2 separate regions of the Homo sapiens genome follow, and region 2 is linked to region 1. Evidence: promoter capture Hi-C in human tissues and cell types (Jung and others, 2019). All regions are on one chromosome and are shown on one strand. The core of a region is centred on a gene start or on the middle of the fragment in contact, and the rest is flanking DNA. Distances in the headings are between cores, read along the strand shown.

Region 1 (5,210 bases), core at 1,928-4,427:
GAATTTTTGTTTGTCTTGTTCACTGCTGCATCCCCAGTTCCTGGAGCAGTGCTTAGCTCCTAAGTAACCACTCAATAAGTATTAGTTGAATGAAAGAAGAAATCAAACACACATGATCCCTGCCCTCAAGGAGCCCTGTCTAACTCAAAAGACAGAAAAGTAAACAGATTATTACAGTGTAACATGGGGAAAGATCTAATGTTCTAATGATGTACATAAAGCTGGGCGACAGCTAACTATGGAAAACACATGTAGTTAACGGTTTAGAAAAGAAAACAAGAAAAGCATCCACTGTCAAGCTCTGTACGTGAACAATGGGCCCCATCAGAGGATCAAAAGTCACTAGAGTCTTCTCCCAATACCTCTTACCACGATCAGAAACCCTACTCCTTGACCCTGCCTAGAGGTGAAGGGGTGAAGGCATCTGAAATATCTATGATACATGGTCTAAGGGCTTCAAACTACAGTATGCAGGGTATTCCCTACAAAAGACACCATCCAGGACAGCAGTCCCCAGCCTTTTTGGCACCAGGGACTGGTTTCGTGGAAGACAATTTTTCCACAGATGAGGGTGGGTGGTGAACACTGTTCCACCTCAGATCATCAGGCATTAGTCAGATTCTCATAAGGAGCATGCAACCTAGATCCCTCACATGCGCAGTTCACAGTAGGGTTCGCGCTCCTATGAGAATCCAAAGCAGCCGCTGATCTGACAGGAGGCAGAGCTCAGGTGGTAATGCTCGCTTGCCCGCCACTCACCTCTTGCTGTATGGCCTGGTTCTTAACAGGCCACAGTCTGCGGCCTGGGGGTTGGGAACCCCTGATCCAGGATACACCAACTAGTACATTTCCAGGCAGAAACAAACCCTAGAAGCTCTGAGAGTGGCTCCAAGAGATCTCTGAAGTTATAGTGGCCTGTCTAGGACCTTCATTCGACCGAAGGCCAAGATGATCTGGGCAGTATCTGAGGTAAACTCTCAATGCATTCTGTTACCTCAAAAGTCTCTCCCAGAACACTCATATCTAGTCTATCCTTGTACAGCCAAGAGAAAGTCCTAGTTTCCCCCATCATTCTCTGGATGACAAGCTCATAAGGAGCTGCGGTAGGCAGTTACCAAGGCTGTCACCACCAGGAGAGACCTTTGGGGATACAGGGCCCCATGGTGTGGGCAGACTTGGAAGGATATGAACAAAGAGAAGATTTCAAAGAGAAAAACAATTCATCGCCTTGGTTGCAGGGTCTACCATCTATATAAAGTAGAGACGGTGATAATAAAAGCACTTTTTCCAAACTACAAAGCCCTCTTACTTTTAATATTTCTCACAACTACCTTAGGAGATGGTGTAGCTATTATCATCTACACAGAAGCTCAGAAAGATGTCACTCAACGTAAAGCTAGTAAGTGATAACGCTACAATTTGAACCCAGGTCTTCCGATGCTCAATTCCTCTCAGTGGGAATTAAGAACACCACAGAGGTGCTATGGTCTGGTACAAAACGAGGCTCTGGGGCAATCTAGGTTCTAATCTTGGCCCTCTGTGACCTAGAGAAAGTCCCTTAAGCTCTCTATGCCTCCATACTCCATCAGTAAAATGAGGGTAACACAATCTAGCTCTCTAGGTGCTACTTGTTAATAAGGTATTATTAACATCTTTACTTGAAAGGCCTTCCAATCCCAAAGTGTGACTGAAACAAACAAAAAACCAATTTGGCTGAGGAGCAGTGCCAGGCGGGCTGGCACACACCCCATTTGGAGCCAAAGGAAACAGAATCATCGCAGCAATTCTGTCCGGGTTCCAGAGGCCCTTGGCTACTGGATTCCTTACAAATGCCAAGTCCCTGGGGGCAGACAGGGCCAACAGACCTGCTTCATCACCCACCCCTCCAAAGGCACCGAGGCCCTAGAAGAGGTGAGAACATCTGCCTCCACACCGACCCCAAACAGCGCAGACAGGCGGTGCGGCGCCCACTTTCATGAAAGCCGCTCCATCTTCTCCTTCCCCACCTGCCACCTCCTCGGCTGCTCAAGCATCTCTCGACCATGCAAGACTCTACACAGACGTGTTTTGTCCCACCCACGCCTCCAGACACCGGGGAGAAACTCTAGAGGGGGAAGGGACTGCTGATGAGGGAAATGAAAAGAGTTTCGCCCACAAGGAGCTTACAGTCTAGACGAGTTTTTTGGCGGGAGTTTCTCAACCTACACAGCCCTTCCCACATACACACCTCCAAAATATCTCCAACAACCCCCGCCCCCCCAGATTTCCCCTCGGCACCCCCTGACCCCTCGCTCACCCACCCCATCCAGGTCCCCGAAGAATGAGGAGCTTCTGCAATTAGACTGTATCCCCTGCACCTCACACAAGATACTCAGGAGACAAGGAGGACCCCAGCCAAGGCTCCTGCTCCTTTAAGGGGGCACCTCTTCCAGAAGAATCTTGACCCCTCGGAGAAGAAAGGAGGGAAATAACATCTCCTCAGAGGGGAGGGGCGAGCGCACCAGAGACAGCCTGACGTGGAGTCCGACCCTCAGACAGAGAAAGCGAGCGCCAGCGAATGAGCGGGGCGGAGAGGCGAGAACCCATTGGCTGCGTCACCTGCCCGTCAGAGGGACCCAGGGGACCTAGGGCCGCTCAAGGGGCGGGACTCTCGTCTGGCCAGGCCAATTGGAAGGCGTGGCGGGGGCGGGGCTTAGCGGCTCGGAATCCAGGGCTGGGGGGGGAGACAAGATGGCGGCTGCGGGAGGGGGTCCTCGCTTCTCAGCTCCCCCGCTCACCCGCCTTCTCCTTCCCTGCCGCCGCCCTCGCTCCAGGAGAGAGCTTTCGCACCGCCCCCGCCCTGCTCGGAAAGCCCCCCGCTTCTCCGGTTTCCCCCCGTGCAGTCCCTGGTCCCCGAAGGCCCCGATGCCCCCGCCCCCGCTCTGTCCGGCCCCGCTGCCGCCCCCATTACCTCAGCCGCCTGCCCGGCCCCACCGTTCGGGGCCCCTGGGCGCGGGCGGGCAGGCCGCCGAGCAGGTCGGCGCGGCCCGGGAAGCGGAGCGCGGTCTTCTCCCGCGCCTGCCTCCGTGGCCTCCGCCGTGCCCCCTCCCGGCCCGCGCTGGGGCCCCGGCCCGGCCGCCGCCGCCGCTCCCGGGGGAGGAGGGGGAATGGAGCCGCCGCTGCTGCCGCTGCCGCCACGGAGCCCGGCCGAGGGGAGGGAGGGATCAGCCCCCAGGCAGGATCCGCCCCTCCGGCCTCCCCCCGCCACCTCCACCCCTTCCCTCGCTCCCTCCCTGACTCTGCGGGCTCTCCCGCTGAACAGGAGCGAGAGCGCGAAAGAGGGGGAAACGGGAAAAAAATCCCCCCGCCCGTGCCTGGCGCGGCGGCGGCCGGGGCGGTGCGGAGAGGAGCGCGGAGGCGCCGCCGCCGCCGCCACGGGGCACCATCCCCGGCTCGGCCTCACGGTGGCGGTGCGGGCGCGGCGGGGACACCGAGCAAGAGACCGGGTCTGCGCCCGCCGCGATCCCTGCGCACCACGGCCCTGCCCGCCACGGGGCGAGCCCGATAAGAGGGCTGTGGACGTTCGGGTCTAGTTGGGAGAGACAGGGGTCCCTGACTCTTGAGCGGTCAGTCATTTCCTCCCCAGTCCTTGTGGGTGACGTGGCTACGGTTTGGAGCAGCAAGCCCCCTCCCCGAACTAAAGGGCCTCTCCAAAGGTTAAGCCAGGGCAGTCATTGAGGTCAAAACCAATATGTAGTTTCTTGACTGCAGGTGCCTGCACGACTCCCAGAAAGTCGCGTCTCCCCTAACCCCCATGCCCAGGACCTGAGGACAAAGGTCTAGCGATTGTCCATCCCCTCCCCCAGTGAGGACAGCCGGGAAAGACCTGCCTTTGTTGTGTACAGGTGAGCGTCTTGTTCCGCACCACACATCTTTTAAAAAAAAAAAAAAAAAATCTGACTTTCCGTTTAAAAGGAGTAAACAAAAGTTTGACAGTCTGCTTAAGCATGCCTGGTAACTCGTCTGTCACTGTGGGCATGGGAAACACTTTAAACCTGACTTGGTTAATTTAATGCATTAGGCGGCTTTCTAAAAGATGCTTGACAAATGGCAGCATCAGACCAAACTGGCTTTTGTTTTGATCTAAAAAAACAAAAAAATAAAGAAAAGGGCTCCATTGCCACCCCCTTTTGCCTGTAAACTGGAAAGCTTACCTCATGTGACTGAAGTCTTAAGCACCAATACATAATGATGTTTATAAAGGACGTATGGATAAGCTGCCTGTAAATGTGAAGGTGAGTGACAGTTTGAAAGTGTTTCCTCTGCTGGCACTTGTGGTGTAGCTGGTGAGACTCAATTTCTTTCTTGGTTCTGATGATCAAGGACATGTATTCTAGAGTCAGAAGGATGAAGGATAAAGTCTTAGGATCCAAATTTTCTGAATGTTTAAAGTGAACATACTGCTACTTTGGAAGTATAGATGTTATACTAAGGAATTTAAATATAGAGAGTTTCAAATTCAAAAGTTTGATTAAGGAAGCTAATTTGTTTCCAAGTAAATAGCATCTTCTGGCAAAGAGATAGTACAAAAATGCTTCTGTTAACCAATTTTTTAAATGCAAGGGGGGTGGCTCGTGGAGCTAAGCAAGGGCAGGACAATGTTTTGAAAGCTGTGAAGATGAAATAGTATGAATTAATGTCAAGTGTTCTGAAGCTAGGGGGAATAATCATTTGGAGGGAAGGTGTGGAAGAAAAAGATGATTAATTGTGGAAGAGAAAGCCCCAGAGGCAAGAAAATATTGCAATTACAGTACTTGTAGTTAAGAAAAAAAAAGTCTGAAAACTAACAGAAACTATTAAAACATGAAATATAATAATCATTTATACATATGACTAGTAACTTTTATTTCTTGATGGATGTTCTCAAAATTTATTTAGCACAATTCCCATTTGCGTGATCAGGAGCTATCTTTTTCCACTAAAATGAATGAATAAATACCTTGAGAAAATGCATTGGTTTCTACTTGTAAGTCAACGATTTAAATGCTGTTGAAAAGGCCTTAAGTCAACCTAATGCATGTGATTTTTTTCAGGTTTTTCTATTCAAAGCTTTCATATTAAGACCTTATTCAACCTAAGTGTTTCTCTTCCATTTTCAACTTCTACTTTTTTAATGATATCATTACAGTTGCCCTCACTTTAATTTTTGACATTTGGAATTGGTTTCTACA
Region 2 (5,119 bases), core at 2,466-4,965, 1.0 Mb before region 1:
TTGCAAAGCACTTGTGTGATTGGCTTGCTGTCACTGTTGCTCTCTGCCATTGCCATGAGAACATGTCTAGGCTAGCCTGCTGGATGATGAAAAACATGTGGAACTAGGCCAAGTCTCCCTAAGTTATCCCAGCTGAGGCCATCCTAGTTCAGCCAACAGCCAGTTGAGCCTTTGACGTATGAATTAGCTGAGCCAAAATCAACAAAATTGCCTGGCCAACCAACAGTTGACCTCAGACACTTGAGCGAGTCCAGCTGAGATCAGCTCAGCTCAGCCCAGCCCAGCCCCAGATAAACTGAACCTCACAAACTTGTGTATTAAATACATGTCCATTGTTACATGCCATTGTGGTTTTATGGTTGTTTATGTGATGTTATTGTGACAATATACGGCCAACACACATATGATTCTCCAGATTTCTCCACAAGTCTATGAGCCATGGTTTTTCTGCTTAAATCAGCCAAGAGTTGGCACTTGTTGCTTGCTCTGACTTACACAGAGAAAGACTGAAAGTAAATTAGAGAGAAACATGGGGTCAAGGGAGAAGTTGAGGTAGACGAGACTTCAACATGTTTATAGGCCAAGGATTGGAGGCAGTTGTATTTGTTAGGCTATAAGTGTAGCTGGAAAATAATAGTGCTTTAGACACAATAGAAGTTTACGGTTTTTCTCCCTCATGTGAAAGAAGTTTACAGTTTTTCTCCCATAGGGGTTTCAGCCTCTGGTGAAACTGCCTTTGCAAAACTACGACAGTAAGAGAAATCTGACACAGTTGACTCCTTCTTGCTTCTAACCTCCAGATTCTCCTTGTTCATTCCTATGCATAAGCCAAACTTTGGAAAGAATTTAGTTTACATTTTAACCTTAAAGCAAAGATGACAATAGCCCTTCCCAAAACTAAACCACCTTTGTAAAACTAATAAAAGTCCACAAGGTTAGGATTATGAGAGGGGCCTGAGTTCTACTAAAATGTAGGTGGAGTTAAATGATAACCAGCCACTGTTCCAGAGGTCACAAAATTTGTAACTTCCCCAGTTCCCCTGTAGATAACATCACTACTGTAGAACCTAAGATTGGCCTTTTGAGACGTCTTTTCAGACTTGCATTTCTGAGGACTGGCTGACTCCATGTGGGCTCCTGGCTCCTGACTGAACCGGTCCTGTGCACCCCCCCATCCAGAGGCAGACTCAGCACACAAGGAGTTTTCCACATCCTTATGATGGCATTCCCCACCAGTCAGCACCACCCATTCCCTAGTCCTCTGCTCACCAAACTATCCTCGAAAAACCCTAGCCAGGTGTGGTGGTGCATGCCTGTAATCCCAGCTAGTTGGGATGCTGAGGCAGGAGAATCGCTTGAACCCAGGAGGCGGAGGTTGCAGTGAGCCGAGATCATGCCATTGCACTCCAGCCTGGGCAACAAGAGAGAAACTCTGTCTCAAAAAACAAAACAAAACAAAACCCTAACCTCTGAGCCTTTGGGGAGATTGATTTGAGTAATAACTCCATATCCCATATGATATGGCCAGCCTCATATCAATTAAACTCTTTCTTTACTGCAGTGTCATGGTCTCAGTGAATTGGTTTTGTCTGTGTAGCAGGCAGGAAGAACCCACTGGGCAATTACACTGGGAAGAAGGACAGGGAGAACATGACCTTTCTCTTCAATACCTGGTGGTTTCCTCCATTTTTTTCCCCCTTTCAATCCATTCTCAGGACTTGGTCACATGACCACACTCAGCTGCACAGAAAGCTGGAAAACGTAAACCTTATTCTGGCCAACCGAATTTATAACTAAACGCCCTGTTTCAGAGTGGAAGAAGGGGCAAACAGAGAGTAATAGCCCTTGCCAAATTAAAGAAGATGGAATAATTAATGGGACAACATCTCCGTGGTGGACTTTATTAGTTATTTCCTTCCATATTCTTTTTTAAGGGGGCTCTTTTTTTTGTAGGGGCAGGGCAACTGTGTTCACAGTGTGGGCATAAATCATAATTTACCTAAACAAGTTATGGCGATCCCATTCAACTTTGCCAGAAACTTGCTTTCCCAGCCTCTCCTGCAGCTACATGTGCCATGTGACCCAGTTCTGACCAATGAGCCATGAGAAGAAGACTGCTAGGGGTTTTCTGGGAAATGTTTTACTTCCTATGAAAGAGACAAACATGGAAGAGAGCTTACTGGCACACTCCTGCCTGGGATACTGGTGTGAGTCACTGGGGCAGTCAGCTTATGACCACAAAAGTAAGGCCAAAGGAATTACAGATGCCAACCTAGAGCCCTGACACCTTTTTAAGGATCTGAATACCTTGAGAGATGAGCAGGTGAAGAAGGGGAGAAAAAATATTTGAGGAAGTGGGAGTATTAGATACATGAGAAGGAATGCTTAGCAATACCCCTGGAAAGTTGGGTCCCAGTCAGATCATGAGGGCTTTGTATGAAGTAGTGTGATTTACTGTCAGAATTACCTCATTCCAAGCTGGGGCTGGTTTCCCTGTTTGTCAGCTGATTCACCACCAAAGCATGACAGGCTTTTCTCTTTGTAGGCTTAAGAAGACTGCCCATCTCTTCCCCACTCAGAGAGTTAAAGAACTTTTGTTTTGGAAAATCTAGGCTCTTAAAGGCAAAGAAAAGATCTAGATGATATGGATGAGTAGGGAGTGCTGATTTGAAAAGTTGAGGGTGAATAGAATGGTTCCCAGCTTTCTACAGCATGTGGAATTTCCTTCCCTTGGGGGGAATAGAGAGGTACAGGTTCTGCCCACCGTGGGGGCCTGTGTTTGACTCTCTCCCAGACCCCAGAGTGGCAGAATGTTTGATGGGTTAGCTGAGTGGACACTTGGCTGGGGACTGAGCTCTAAGCCATAGTCTCCAGGGCTATGAGCAGTGGGACCACTGAAGTCTGGACATCAAGCCCTTCACAGTGACCACACTGTCTTGAAGTCTAGAACTCTTCCCTCAGATTCCAAGATTGGGTGAACTCAGGGGGTTCTATGTGACTCCATCAAGGGGCAGGGAAAGAGCAGGCAAAAAAAAAAAAAAAAAAATTGAGATCGAATTTTTCCCTAACTCCCTGAGGAAGCAGGCCAAAACAGACTTCATATTACTTTTTGAAAATAAAGACAACGCGATAAAGCCATCTCTTGTGTTAGTGTTTAGTTACAGTGCAAATTTACACGGTTACATACAAAGCCAAGGAAAAGGAGTGAGAAGAGGTCATAAATTATCTCAATAACTTTTTTAAAAAGTTAATGGAGTTTTAAATAAGAAAATATAGAATGTATGTCTCTAAGAATTCAAGCTTATATATATACAAAATGTCCATTTGTATTTTAAAAATCTAATTAAATTGGCCTGGATATTGCCAGACTAGAAAAAAATTCAATCTCTCTTATCACTGGGGATCCCTCTGGCTCCCAGGGATGACCCAGAATCCAGATGTAGAACCTGGAACAGAAAACCTGTAGCATCACTGGGGGTGCTGACAGCTGCCTCATGCCAGCCCAAGAATGGGGACCTTGGATCCTGCCAGCACCTGCTTCTAGCCGCACATGAGTTGTAGGAATCCTTACTGAGGTTGGAGGAGGGAAGACAGAATCCCTAGTGCTCAGGGTCCAGTCCCCTCTCCAGGTACAATGCTGAGATGTCGCTTTTGAGGTCCTGCTTCCCTCCTTGGAGCTCTGCCGCTGAGGAGTGAAGGGTCTTCATATTCCCCACCACGTAGACAGCCACCTTTTTTTTCTTTGACAAAGAGTAACACCTTTAGCCTGGGCAACATAGTGAGACCCCGTTTCTAAAAAAAAAAAATTAACCAGGTATGGTGTCACGCAGCTGTAGTTCTAACTACTTGGGAGACTGGGGCCCAGGAGGTCAAAGGTGCAGTGAGCCAAGATTGTGCCACTACACTCCAGCCTGGGAGACAGAGCAAGACCCTGTCTCAAAAAAAAAAAAAAAAAGAGTAATACTTTTATTATATATAGAACTCATGCACATTGAAAAAATGCTAATATCCTGATACATTAATATATTAAGTAAAGACATAACTTGCAAAAAGGTCAGTAAAACTGGTTAACAAATACTTCATAAATGTTCAACCTTAGGAATAATCAATAAGATACAAAAATTAAAATATTTTCACCTACTACTAGGTTAAATGAAGAGAATAAATCAAAATAGAATCTTAAAATAGTAATACCAAATGATAGCAAATGTGTGCTAAAACAGATAGGTACATATATTTTTGATGGAAGAGTGAATTAGTAACAACCATTTGATGTTTTGTTTTTATGTCTTTTTTTAAATTTATTTTTCTGTTTTAAATTAATCATGTTTCTCAAATACACACACATACATGTATACATACATAGAGATGTGATAGCCGGCCTCAAGTTTGCCTCAATAATCCTGGCCTCCTGGTATTTACACCCTTATGTTGTCCTCTCCCCATAGTCCCCTGCAGGGTCAGTGAGTGTGACCAATTAAATAGCTGAAGTGATGGATATCACTTCTGAGATTACTAAGACAGTGCAGCTTCCATTTTGGTCTCTCTCTCTCTCTCTCTCATCACTTACTCTGGGGGAAGCCAGTGGCCATGTCATGAGGAAATTCAAGTGGACTATAGAAAGGCCCAGGAGGTGAGGAACTGAGTTCTCTGGCCAACAGCCAAGAAAGAACTGTGGCTTCCTGCCAACAGTCAGAGAGAGCGAGCTTGGATGAAACTTCCCTCCCACAAGTAGAGCCTTTAGATGGCCCCCAGCCCAGGCCAACAGCTTGACAGCAGCCCTGTGAGAAACCTTGAACCAGAACCACCCACCTACGCTACTCTTGGATTCCTGACTCATGGAAATTATGAGATAATAAATGTTTTATATCATAAGTGTCTAAGGTTTGAGGTAATTTGTTACAGAGCAATAGTGACTAATACAAGAGTTCAGAGGGCAAAACAGTCACACATACTTAAAGGCTTTAAAAAGTCCCAGCAGTTTTCTGTCTCGCCTCTTCTTAGCCACCCAGACACATTACCCAGAGGCTACTGACCAAGTGCTAGGCTGCCACTGCCAGATTTCCTGTTAGAAGAAGAAAATAAATTTCTAGTTGTTTAAACTACTATTGTTTGAGTC

What was found. Contacts are between HindIII fragments. The study calls those that stand out against the background at their distance.
Region 2: a contact is called between a fragment that was not itself captured here and the fragment with the promoter of BRPF3 in region 1, in 1 of the 25 tissues and cell types used here (aorta).

What each region holds. Positions count from the first base shown.
Region 1 is chr6:36,194,711-36,199,920 of GRCh38, reverse strand. BRPF3 (bromodomain and PHD finger containing 3) reads right to left here and starts at 3,177. Exons shown (of 13, transcript NM_015695.3): 1 at 2,951-3,177. It overlaps BRPF3-AS1 (BRPF3 antisense RNA 1), which reads left to right and starts at 2,718. Exons shown (of 3, transcript NR_187147.1): 1 at 2,718-3,884. RefSeq lists an enhancer at 2,423-2,472 and a silencer at 2,823-3,562. The HindIII fragment of the contact is 7,678 bases long and covers 1-4,638 here.
Region 2 is chr6:37,239,936-37,245,054 of GRCh38, reverse strand. The region is part of intron 1 of TMEM217B (transmembrane protein 217B); the gene reads left to right. The region is part of intron 1 of TMEM217 (transmembrane protein 217); the gene reads left to right. Among named protein-coding and RNA genes, the nearest start is that of TBC1D22B, 15 kb to the left of the region's middle. RefSeq lists an enhancer at 4,568-4,862. The HindIII fragment of the contact is 5,344 bases long and covers 1,044-5,119 here.